Linked DNA regions of Homo sapiens: region 2 is linked to region 1. The links are contacts of gene promoters, found by promoter capture Hi-C in blood cells and fetal thymus (Javierre and others, 2016). All regions are on one chromosome and are shown on one strand. The core of a region is centred on a gene start or on the middle of the fragment in contact, and the rest is flanking DNA. Distances in the headings are between cores, read along the strand shown.

What was found. Contacts are between HindIII fragments. The CHiCAGO score rates a contact against its expected background, and 5 or more counts as called.
Region 2: a fragment that was not itself captured here is called in contact with the fragment with the promoter of UPK3A in region 1 in 3 of 17 cell types (total CD8 T cells, total CD4 T cells and naive CD8 T cells); the score reaches 5.4 in total CD8 T cells.

What each region holds. Positions count from the first base shown.
Region 1 is chr22:45,282,018-45,288,246 of GRCh38, forward strand. It overlaps UPK3A (uroplakin 3A), which reads left to right and starts at 2,932. Exons shown (of 6, transcript NM_006953.4): 1 at 2,932-3,048; 2 at 3,924-4,079; 3 at 5,155-5,434. The coding sequence starts at 2,997. RefSeq lists a silencer at 2,753-3,062. The HindIII fragment of the contact is 17,600 bases long and covers 1-6,229 here.
Region 2 is chr22:45,390,751-45,396,979 of GRCh38, forward strand. SMC1B (structural maintenance of chromosomes 1B) reads right to left here. Exons shown (of 25, transcript NM_148674.5): 7 at 5,596-5,736; 8 at 3,935-4,017; 9 at 2,884-3,091. Among named protein-coding and RNA genes, the nearest start is that of SMC1B, 20 kb to the right of the region's middle. The HindIII fragment of the contact is 186 bases long and covers 2,655-2,840 here.

The sequences.
Region 1 (6,229 bases), core at 1,682-4,181:
AAAAAAAAAAAGAAAGAAAGAAGGAAGGACAAAGAAAGAAGAAAGAGAGGAAGGAAGGAAGGAGAAAGAAAGAAAGAAGGAAGGAAGAAAGGAAGGAAGGAAGGAGAAAGAAAGAAGGAAGGAAGGAGAAAGAAAGAAGGAAGGAAAGAAAGGAAGGAAGGAAGGTAGAAAGAAAGAAAGAAAGAAAGAAAGAAAGAAAGAAAGAAAAAGAAAAAACTAGGTTCATTGAGACAGACCGAGAAGCAGTAATACCCAGTTGCAAGAGGCACCTTGCCACTGTTAGATCTTAAACTCCAGTCTCCAGTGAAAGGCACCAGTGCCCCTTGGAGAGATGGCTGAATCCAGAGCTGGGACAGGGAATGTCAAGAGGAGCCCGGGACATTTTATTGTGCCAGAAAGTAAAGAGGTTCTCAAAGAATGGTGGGAGCGTGAAAGCAGCTAGCACAGAGCTGCTGGAAGGAGCTGCCAACAGCCAGGCCTGGGAACATTTGAGCACAAAATAAATAATGGAAGTCATACATTCAGCTTGCTTTTTTTTTTTTTTTGAGACGGAGTCTCACTGTGTCACCCAGGCTGGATTACAGTGGCACGGCGCGATCTCAGCTCACTGAAACCTCCACCTCCTGGGTCCAAGAGATTCTCCTGCCTCAGCCTCCCAAGTAGCACTGATTAGAACTCACCGTCATGACCATGTCCTGCCCAAAAGGTTTAACTTGAATTTCATCAATAGGAAACCATCAGACAGATCCACATGCAGGGACTTTCTGCAAACCAGCTGGACTGGATGCTTTGCAAATGTTCACATCAGGAAAGACAGAAGCAAAACAAAACAAAAGGCTGAGAACTGTCTGATGGTTTCCTATTGATGAGATTCAAGTTAAACCTTTTGGGCGGGACATGGATGTCCAAGTAGCTGGGACTACAGGCGCCTGCCACCACGCCTGGCTAGTTTTTTGGGTTTTTTTGTATATTTAGTAGAGAAGGGGTTTCACTGTGTTGGCCAGGCTGGTCTCAAACTCCTGACCTCATGATCTGCCCACCTCGGCCTCTCAAAGTGCTGGGATTACAAGCGTGAGCCACCGCATCCAGCTGGGGAAAGATTTTTAGGGATCAAGGGCCGGGCGCGGTGGCTCACGCCTGTAATCCCAGCACTTTGGGAGGCTGAGGTGCGTGGATCACAAGGTCAGGAGATTGAGACCATCCTGGCTAACACAGCGAAACCCCGTCTCTACTAAAACAATACAAAATATCAGCCAGGCATGGTGGCAGGTGCCTGTAGTCCCAGCTACTCGGGAGGCTGAGGCAGAAGAATGGCGTGAACGTGGGAAGTGGAGCTTGCAGTGAGCCGAGATCACGCCACTGCACTCCAGCCTGGGTGACAGAGCAAGACTCCGTCCCCCCCAAAAAAAAAAAGAAAAAAAAGATTTTTAGGGAACAAGACATACATTAATCCAGAGATACCAACTTTACCAAATGATGAAATGGAACATCCCCAATAATGGGACACACTGACCTCATGTGCTTCCTTCCTCCATTCCAAATCTCCCTCATCCTACAGTGAGAATCTGGGTTCTGGTACCACCAATCCTAGGATAACCCAAAGTTGCTTCGGAATGGCTCCGCCCTCCCCACTGCCAATAACAAAGTCACTAGTGAGGTTTGGGGTTCTGTCACAGGCCTCCCAGTTCTTAGAGTGTACTCCACTAAGGAGGTACCCCTGGACAACCCAGCTCTATAATTACTCAGATCGTTTTATTCTTTTTCTGCAAGTGAGGTTATGTCATCAACGTCATACAGAGATTAATTAGTTTCTGTTGATTTTCTTTATCTTTTTTCTAAGAGACAGGGTCTGGCTCTGTTATTGCAGCTTTAATCATAGCTCAAAGTGGCATGATCATAGTTCACTGTAGCCTCGACCTCCTGGGCTCAAGCAATCCTGGGACTACAGGCATGCCCCACTAGGCTGAGCTAATTTTTTTTTTTTTTTTTTTGGTAGAGATGGGGTCTCACTATGATGCCCAGGATGGTCTCTAGCTCCTGGCCTCAAGGGATCCTCCTATCTTGACCTCCCAAAGTGTTGGGATTACAGGCATGAGCCTCCTTGCCCCTCTTCTGTTGTTTTTTTCCTATCCTTGTTGACTTACTTTTATTTCTTAAATGTAAAATTGATTTAAGGTGCATCCAGAGATGTGCACAGATTCTTGTGATGGAGGGAACCGCACAGTCATGGTGAGGAGTCCATCATAATTTTCAAACGCCCCTTTAAGAAGTAGGCATTAACACCCTGCTCCATCCCTTTGGAGGCAGCCCTGGGCTGAGCACTGGACTCCTGGGTTCCACCAGCCTCAGTGTCTCCAGGAGACCAAGCGCGGCCGGGGGTGAGTCCCTGTCCCCGCGCCCCCCACCACGCTCCAATACTTACCCCCTGCCCCACCCCCCAGCCTCCCGGGCCTTGGCTTGTACCTGTGAACCGAAGGGGTCATACTAGGCGTCATACTAGGGTCTCTGGATAGCTCCCAGGCCTGGACTTCGTTTTCCAGGATATCACCTTTACTGGTCAACCCATTTTGTTTCGCGAGTGCCCAGTGAGTGTTTGGCACGTAATAGAGCCTCCATAAATAGTTGTAGAAATTAGCGTCATTTTACAGTATGGAAACTGAGGCTCCAAGTGGGAGTGGCTTGCCCTCAAGGTCCCATTGGTGAGAGACGCTGTGGAAGGGCTGCCCTGGCCTGGGCACACAGTAGGCGCTTTGATGCGGGCTGGAGAAGGTCCTGCCCGGTGGGATTGCGCCCTGGGGCACCGCGCACGGGTCGGGGAAGCCCGGGGCAGGGCCGTATGCAAATAGCGCGCGAGGAGGCCGCGGATTGGCCAGCCCAGGCGGGGGCGGGGCGCGCCGAGGGCCCAGAGCTGGCAGGTGCCCTGGCAGGGACAGGTCTGGTGCCCGCGCCTGCTCGCTGGACCGCCCGCCCCGCGCTCTGGCGGCTCCTCCCGGGCGATGCCTCCGCTCTGGGCCCTGCTGGCCCTCGGCTGCCTGCGGTTCGGCTCGGGTAGGCGGTGAAGGGCAGGAGGGGGCTGAGCCCAGAAAGAGCGGGCAGCTCTGCCCTGGGGCGCCCGCCGCCTGGACCCTGATTCCTGGCGCTGGGGACCCAGATATTACTGTTATGAATAATAGTGATAGCCAACGTTTACGGGCCTCCTCTGTTGGGAATCCGAGGGCTCACAGATGGCTGCAGCCCTGCGATGTGTGTTGCAAGAGACCAACATGCAGGGGGGCTGCGGTAGGACAGAGAAGGGACTAGCCCCAGCCCCATGGTGACGCCTGGACGGGGGCAGATAGAGAGATATTTCGGCCGAGGAAGCAGCATGGGCAAGTTCATGGAGGGGAGACAATATTGGGCTGTCCTGGGAACTGCCAGTCCATGGGACCAGCTGGAGCCTGGGGTGAGGGGAGCCTGTGGGGGAAGGGGTGAGGCTGGAGACCGAACAAAGCAAAGCCCAGAACTTCAGGACCTCACTGCCTTTCCAGAGAGGCTGGACTTCGTCAGGGGGCGCTGGGGGACCATGGGAGGGCCATAGCCAGAGAATGAGGCAGTCAGACTTGCATGTGGGGGGAGGGCCCAGGTGAGGAAGGTGGGACGGAGGAGGGCTGGGCCGATGGCATGGAGAGATGCTTAGGAGGGGCAGTGGAGTTCTTGGCAACTGAGTGTCTGCAGCAGGGAGAGAAGGCAGCAGTTTGGCCCGACCGCTCCATTTCTGAGCAGGATGACTGGGCAGGGGGCAGTGTCTGAGACAGCTTATGCGGTGGCCCAGGGGGAGGGTGAAGCCCAGGGCCTGGCACACAACACGTGCTCAGTAACTGCAAGCAGAGTGGGTGTGGACAGTTCTGCCGGAGGTCAGTTCCCATCCTCACTGCCTCCTCCAGCTGTGAACCTGCAGCCCCAACTGGCCAGTGTGACTTTCGCCACCAACAACCCCACACTTACCACTGTGGCCTTGGAAAAGCCTCTCTGCATGTTTGACAGCAAAGAGGCCCTCACTGGCACCCACGAGGTCTACCTGTATGTCCTGGTCGACTCAGGTAAGGGTCCTGCTTCCCTCTGGCTACTCCAAAAGGGGCTCTGACCTGTCTGCAGGGAGGAGGGAAGGAGGCAGATAGAGGAACCCTCCATGCCTGTAGTCGTCTCATTAAACAGGTACTGCAGCCACAGACCTGTCCTTGCCTTGCAGGGACATCCAGTTAGTGAGGGAAGTAATAACACCACCAGTCACTGAACACCTACACCATACCAGGCACTTTGCACACCATAGAGCTAGTATCTACAACCAGCTTGTAAGGTAGCTATTACCAATCCCCATTACAGAGCAGGGAAGCAAGGCTCAGAGAGGTGGAATAACCCCCCCTGGACCTCCCAGGGCTGGAGAGTGAATCCTGATCTCTCTAGTCCCCAAGCCCAAGGTCCTTCCTGAGGCTTCGAAAGGTGGCTCAAGATTGGTGTTTCTGAGACAAAACCATGCATTTGGACCTGCTGCTGTGGCCCAGCCCCAACCCCTGCCCTGGAGGGGATCCTGAGCTTCTGAGACAAGCCAACATCAACTCTTGCATTTCTAGCAGCCAGTCATTTACAACAGCTCATTCGGGACCATCCTTTTCTTCTTTCAGCATGTGTTTATTGACTATAAACTAAAGTGCCTGATCTCCGGGCACTGTAGGGAATTTCTCTCCCATTTCATAGAAGACTAGGGTCTGAAGAGGTAGAGTGAGTTGTCCAAGGTCACCCATCTAGTAAGGAGGAGAGCTGGGTCCTGCCTCCACGTTATTTCCCTTGGACCGATGACCTTCCTTTCCCATTTTACACAAGAGAGAATCCAGGGCTTTCAGCAATGAAGAGACAAAGGTCTGTTGGGATGGGGGGTTGCAGGAATGTCACAAGATAAGGCGAGAGTCAGACACAGCGCCCAAAGCAGGGAGGTGATCCTTGTCCATCTCCCACATTGCACTGAGAGGGCAGAGACTAAGTTTGCCCCATGCCTGTGATGCCAGTGCCCAGCACAGAGCTGGGGCAGAAAGGATGATCAGGCATTTGATGAATAACTGAGTGAGTGTCGCTGAGCCGGAGTGGCCAGAAGCCTGACTCCCTGCACCGCCTCTGCAGCCATTTCCAGGAATGCCTCAGTGCAAGACAGCACCAACACCCCACTGGGCTCAACGTTCCTACAAACAGAGGGTGGGAGGACAGGTCCCTACAAAGCTGTGGCCTTTGACCTGATCCCCTGCAGTGACCTGCCCAGCCTGGATGCCATTGGGGATGTGTCCAAGGCCTCACAGATCCTGAATGCCTACCTGGTCAGGGTGGGTGCCAACGGGACCTGCCTGTGGGATCCCAACTTCCAGGGCCTCTGTAACGCACCCCTGTCGGCAGCCACGGAGTACAGGTGGGTGTAAACAAACCACTACAGGAGAGCCGCGGCAGTTCCCCAGTCCTGATGAGGGAGAGCAGGGGCAAAGTAGGAGCAGCCACACTTCTTGAGAACTTATATGCTGAGAACATCCCAGGTTCCAGGCAGGCCACGCTGAGCCTCAAGTTCAGAAGAGGCCCCTCTTGGATTGACGCTCTGCAACTACCGTCTTGAAATTCTGTATTTTATTTATTTATTTATTTTTTGAGACGGGGTCTCCACCATTTCCCAGGCTGGAGTACAGTGACACAATCTCAGCTCACTGCAACCTCCGCCTCCCAGGTTCAAGCGATTCTCTTGCCTCAGCCTCCCGAGTAGCTGAGATTACAGGTGCACACCACCATGCCCGGCTAATTTTTTGTGTTTTTAGTACAGATGGGGTTTCATCATGTTGGTCAAGCTGGTCTCGAACTCCTGACCTCCAGTGATCAGCCTGCTTTGGCCTCCTCCATAGTATTGGGTTACGGGCGTGAGCTGCCATGCCTGGCCCATCTTGAAATTCTTAATTGTTGAACAAGGGCCCACATTTTCATTTTGCTCTGGGGCCCACAGATTATGCAGCTGGTCCTGGCCCATCTACGTGTGTGGAAGTCACCCACCCAAACCCCTTCGTCTTACAGGAAAGGAAACTGTGCCAGAGAGGGAAGGTCACCCAGTGGAAAGCTGGGGCCCAGCATGAACAGAAACCCTACCAAAGCCTTGCCATCTGCAGCCTCAACTTCTGCTTTTTTTTTTTTGAGATGGAGTTTCGCTCTTGTTGCCCAAGGTGGA
Region 2 (6,229 bases), core at 1,498-3,997, 110 kb after region 1:
TGAGCTGAGACCTGAAGAATGGTCAAGAATTAATTAGACTGAAGTTCAAAAACTTTACTAGAAAATGTTTGAATGTCAAGCATCATGTATCAGTGGTCTCTAGAATATTTGAAGGTTTAATTTTGTATCTTTGGACTCTTTCCTCCGTTTGTTAGGTTCTACTTCAAGAATACCATTTTCCTATGATAAACCATCACTGTCTTTGCTGTTTAAATATCTTTGACTTTTTCTTCTCCATTAATTTGTGATTATCTCAGGCCTTTCTTCAGGGTCAATAATTTGATTTTCAGCTGTGTAATCCATTATTTGCTACCTTTTTTTTTTTTTTAAAGAGATGAGGTCTTGCTATGTTGCCCAGGCTGGTCTCAAACTCAAGTATTCTCCTGCCTCAGCCTCCGAGTAGCTGAAACTATAGGCGCACACCATCACGCCTGGCAGCTACTTCTAATTTATTAGTATTTCTTGCTATTAATGCTTCTAATTTGTTAATTTGTCTATGTTATTTATTACTTACATGCTAACTATAATTATTCAGTAATAATGCCTATTCTTGATTTGTTTTCACAGCTTACATTTTCCTTTTTATCTTATTGTTTTACCTCATATTTGAATCTAGTTTTATAAATTCAAGTTCTTATTAAATTGCCCATAGTGCAAAACATTTATGGGGATTTTGTTCTGTAACCTTCTAGACTGGGCTCTTTGACTTCTAAATGTTTTAAAATAGTTTCTTTCTCTTTGTTGTTATTATATGTACCTATAGCTGCCACAGTGATTCTTTTCACTTTGCTTATGTTTAATGTGAGTAGCTCTGTTCAGATCTTTGATTTGCTATGGCGGATAACTTTTATTAATTCCCTTTCTCACAGAAGTGAGACAATCACCTCCTCCGAGCAACAGTTGATAGAATAAGTATTTCCTATTCTGTTTACTTTCTTGTAAGGGATTGGATGGTAGGGGCAAGTGAGAACTCACCTAAGACTTTTAAAGAACATACTTCATTTAAGTACCTGAATTCTCTCGTCTGAGTTTTTAATTAATATCCCATACCAAGGTTCTTCTACTTTGAGGGAGGAGGACAAATCCCATCTTGAAGAGAGGGCTTCAAAATGGCCTCTCAATTTTAAAGCCCTAGTAAGTGAGAACTTGGGTCTTCACTTCCATTAGAGAGCATATGAGCTTCACATTCCCCAATTCACCAGTGTTTTTTTGTTTTTGTTTTTTTGAAACAGTCTCACTCTGTCACCCAGGCTGGAGCGCAGTGGTGCTCACTGCAACCTCTGCCTCCCGGGTTCAAGCAATTCTCCTGCCTCAGCCTCCCAAGTAGCTGGGATTATAGGCATGCACCACCACGCCCAGCTAAATTTTTTGTATTTTTAGTAGAGACAGTGTTTCACCGTGTTGGCCAGGCTGGTCTCAAACTCCTGACCTCAAGTGATCCATCCACTTCGGCCTCCCAAAGCGCTGGGATTACAGGCACCCAGTTCACCAGTTTTTAAATCTCTCTCCAGTTAGAAGAGGAAAAGGAAACACATACATGTGAGTTTGCTTCTTGCTAGATCAAGGAATACTAGGTGAGAATTCTCAGGAATTAGTCAATTTATCAGTTCAGCTTCTGTGGAGTTGAGAAAAAGCAATGCTATACTTCAATACTTTTTTTTTTTTTTAAATCCTAGATTATCACCATTTTCTAAAGTTTATGGCATCAGGTCGATTTTTTTTTTAACTAGTTGTGTGTGTGTGTGTGTGTTTCACTAGTTTTTGTCACTTGGATAGGAATTGGGGGATCTAGATTTTGTGACCTAGATTTACTCCTCCATCATTATCCAGAAGTCGAAACCAACATTTAGGAGTCAGAAAGTCAAAACAGATGCTATAAAGGAGATGAAGATGGGTGGCCAGAGACATAGGAGGAAAACCATGAAAGTGTGGATATGGAGGCCAATGGTAGATGTTTCCTTTTTTTTGGAGACAGAGTCTCACTCTGTGGCCTAGGCTGGAGTGCAATGGTGTGATCTCAGCTCACTGCAAACTCTGCCTCCCGGGTTCAAGCGATTCTCCTACCTCACCCTCCTGAGGAGCTGGTATTATAGGCGCCTGCCACAATGTGCGGCTACTTTTTGCATTTTTAGTAGAGACAGGGTTTCACCATGTTGGCCAGGCTGGTCTCAAACTCCTGACCTCAGGTGATCCACCAGCCTCAGCCCCCTAGAGTGCTAGGATTATAGACGTGAGACACTGCCCTGGCCGGTAGGTGTTTCAAAACAGAGCAGTGGTTACCAGTCTCAAATGCTGAAAACAGGCCATATCATAAAATAAGGACTGCACAGTATACACTGATGTTAGGGACAAGAGGATCAGATGCCACCCCGATACAAAAGGAAATAATCTTGTGATGCTGGCACCCCAAGCAACAAGTGATACTGTATTTTGGCTAATGAAATACACTAGCAATACCAGATGCACAGTCATACTTACAGAATAAAAATATGCCAATGATGTCTGCTGAAAAAATATTTCAAAAACAAATAAAACCATGAAAAACATGAGGTTTGAGGCTATGTGTCTGGGTGGCTCAGAGTACTTCACAGCATCCAGGTCCTTTTGGGGATACTGGCCACAATTTGAACTTTCTGGGTACTATGTTCATGTCAAGCTTCTCCCCAATAATTACGTTATCTACAGCTACTACTGGAAGTTTTACCCTAATTAGTTACTGTCACATTTTAAATATAAAGAGTCAAACACAAAACTTAAAGATGTCTGAAATAATATTGCTTTGTAATAATGGTAATATTTCTAATCCCAAATGAGAAGATACTGTTGAAAGCAAACAGGAAAGCTTAGTTTTTTTTGTTTAAATTAACTATTCATTCTCATTACCACAGAATCTGGGTACAGTCTTTTAAGGTGTTCCAGAACCTCTGCTCTCTTTTGCTGACGTTTTCCCTCATGGGTATCAATCCCAGCATTCTGCAATTCACTTCTAATAAGATTCAATTCTTCATTAACTTCAGACATTCTTGATTTTGTTTTTTCAATTTCATCCACTAGGGTTTCCTCTTGCTGTTTTTTCTCTTTCAAGCAATCCCTACAAAATAACAACAAATTATACAGCAAAATGATAAACCAAAATTTAGGAATTACCAGGTACAACATACTCCTGTCTGGCATTGCAGGGGAATAGAGCAGTGCTCTATCAATTTTTAAAGGGTAAAAAATGCAATAAACCTGACACCAAACATGGGCAAAAAAGATTTTGCTCATTCTTTGTTGATTTGAAAAATGTGGCTGGGCCAGGTGGCTCACTCCTGTAATCCCAGTACTTTGAGAGGTTGAGTGGGTGGCTGGCTTGAGTCTAGGAATTTGAGACCAGCCTGGCAACATGGCAAAAACCTGTCTCTACAAAATACAAAAAAAAAAAATTAGCCAGGTGTGGTGGCACACACCTGTAGTACCAGCTATTCAGGGGGCTGAGGTAGGTGGATCACTTGAGCCCAGTGGGTGCAGGCTGCAGTAAGCCATGATCACGCAACTGCACTCCAGTCTGGGTGAGAGTGAGACCCTGTCTCAAAAAAAAAGGAAGAAATACATAAATAAGAAAGCTGCAAGGGGTGCGATGGCTCACACCTGTAATCCCAGCACTTTGGGAGTCCGAGGAGGGTGGATTGCTTGGTCCAGGAGTTCAAGATCAGCCTGGGCAACATGGTGAAACCCCATCTTTACCAGAAATAGAAAAAATTAGCTGGGTGTGGTGGCATGTGCCTGTAGTCTCAGCTACAGGCTGAGGTAGGAGCGTCATGTGAGCCCCGGAAGTTGAGGCTACCGTAAGCCATGACTGCGCCACTGCACTCTGGCCTGGGCGATGGGAGTGAGACCCTCTCTCAAAAAATAAAAGAAAATTGCTGCAAGAAATTTTTTTTACTCTACCTACATGCATGTCTTTGTATACTCCTCTAACTTCTCTATTCGTTTTTTATGATCTTCTATTTGTTCTTTTATTTGTTTTAGATTTCCCTAAAAGAGGAAATAAAATCTAAAATCAATTACGGCAATTCCAAACCAACAAAATTACATGCCTAGAACTTACTATAATATTATAAGCTGTTATAAAATTGAAAGATATCAAATATAATTATATGAAAACACTTATCAGAGCAAATTACAGATCAGGGTTCAACTCCTGAATCTTTACCATTTGCTAGATATTTGATCTCTAGCGATTTCTCTCTGTAACTTCAAACTTCAAGGAGATTATTTTCAAATATCTATATAGTTCTTACCCCTTAACTAATGTACTGAACAAATATATTAGGTTGGTACAAAAGTACTGCAATTACTTTTGCAACAATCTAAATATATTCACTGGCTACCATGTGATAGGAACTAGAGGTACAGAAATAAGCAGGAAAGAGTCCCTGCCCTCAAAGAACTAATGTCTGGTAGGAGAGACAGATAATTAAATAAGTAATTATAGTAGAGTGGTTTTGTGTTATAATAATATAGGCACCTGTAGGGCAACTAATAGCCTTGTGGATGAGGATTTCGGGAAAGTTTTGTTCTATTCACTTTATCATTAAATCCAACTGGAGACTACCACAAGTCTTCTCCATCTGTCTGCAACTACATGTGTTCTTCTTGTTTTTTTGTATTCAAAAGACAACAGCAATTCAACCAACACTTATTGACATCTACTAAGTGCAAGGTTTACAATGGACACAATTAGAATCCTGCCTTTAATAAGCTTCCAGTCCAGTAGAGAGGTACCAATTAATTTTAATTTTTATGCGATCTGACAAAAGCCCTTAGATATAGATAAAAAATTGACTGGGCACGGTGGCTCAGGCCTGTAATCCCAGCACTTTGCAAGGCTGAGGAGGATGGATCACCTGAGGTCAGGAGTTCAAGACCAGCCTGACCAACATGGAGAAACCCTGTCTCTACTAAAAATACAAAATTAGCCAAGCATGGTGGCGCATGCCTGTAATCCCAACTACTCAGGAGGCTGAGACAGGAGAATTGCCTGAACCTGGGAGGCGGAGGTTGTAGTGAACCGAGATCGCGTCATTGCACTCTAGTCTGGGCAACAAGACCGAAACTCCGTATCAAATAATAATAGGTAGTTATATGAGGAAGAAATTATTTTTGGCTTTTTTAGGAGCTGGGATATAAAGAAAAGGAGGGCCAGGGAAGGCTTTGCGGTGTTGGTAACTCTAGATTTTAACATGTAAAGATGAATAGGTTATTCCAAAAAGAAACTAGCATGTACAAAGGCAAAAATGTCCAATGTGTATTTTCATAAATCAGTGTATAATTTTATAACATATCAATTACACAATTATACAAATGTTTTAAAAGTAATTCCTGCTATGTTACCACCTTTGTTTTTCTCCTTGCACAAAATGCCTCTTCTACTCACAGAACTATCACAGATTATGGCTATTATATTTGTATCTTCATCTGCCAAATCATGAAATAAATGAAATGAGACAGTATAGTGTAAGGTTAAGGAGATTCATTCTGGAGACAGGTACAAAAAGGAAATAAAATTTCATTAAGAATGATTCTAAATCATTACTGTACAACCCAAGACACCTGAACTTCTCCATGCCTCCTCTTTTCAAATGCCAGTCTTTCTTCATCTGTCTTCTGTTCCCACTGCAGTTTTTCCAGTTGTTGAGTCATTGTAGCTACTTTCTTTCTTACTTGTTCCTTAAGTTCTTTATAACGATCCAGCTGCATAAACAGTATTGAAAAATTGCTAATTCACCTTAAGAAGCATGAGAGCAAATTTCTTTGTATGAAATCCTGTACTAGAAGATAATTAATCTTCCCAAAAGCTTGCTTTATATAAATTAAATCATAATCGACCACCTTCCCCCGGTAAAATAATGTGAGCATGAAAGCTTCCTTTAAAAAAACTGTTTATTATTTATTTATTTATTTATATTTGAAACTTATTTATTTATTTATTTTTATTTTGCCCAGGCTGGAGTACAGTGGCACAATCACGGCTCACTGCAGCTTTGGCCTCCTGGGCTCAAGTGTTTATCTTATTATTCATAAGGTAATCATTTTTTCCTCTCATAAACACTTAAAGATACATGTGGCTTTGAGGAGACATGATCACTTAATTGACAAGAAGGAAACTGATTACTTAAGGTGCTTTAAAATGTTCAGTGATGAATTAATCTCTAACTTATTATACAAGATTTAATTATAATAAATC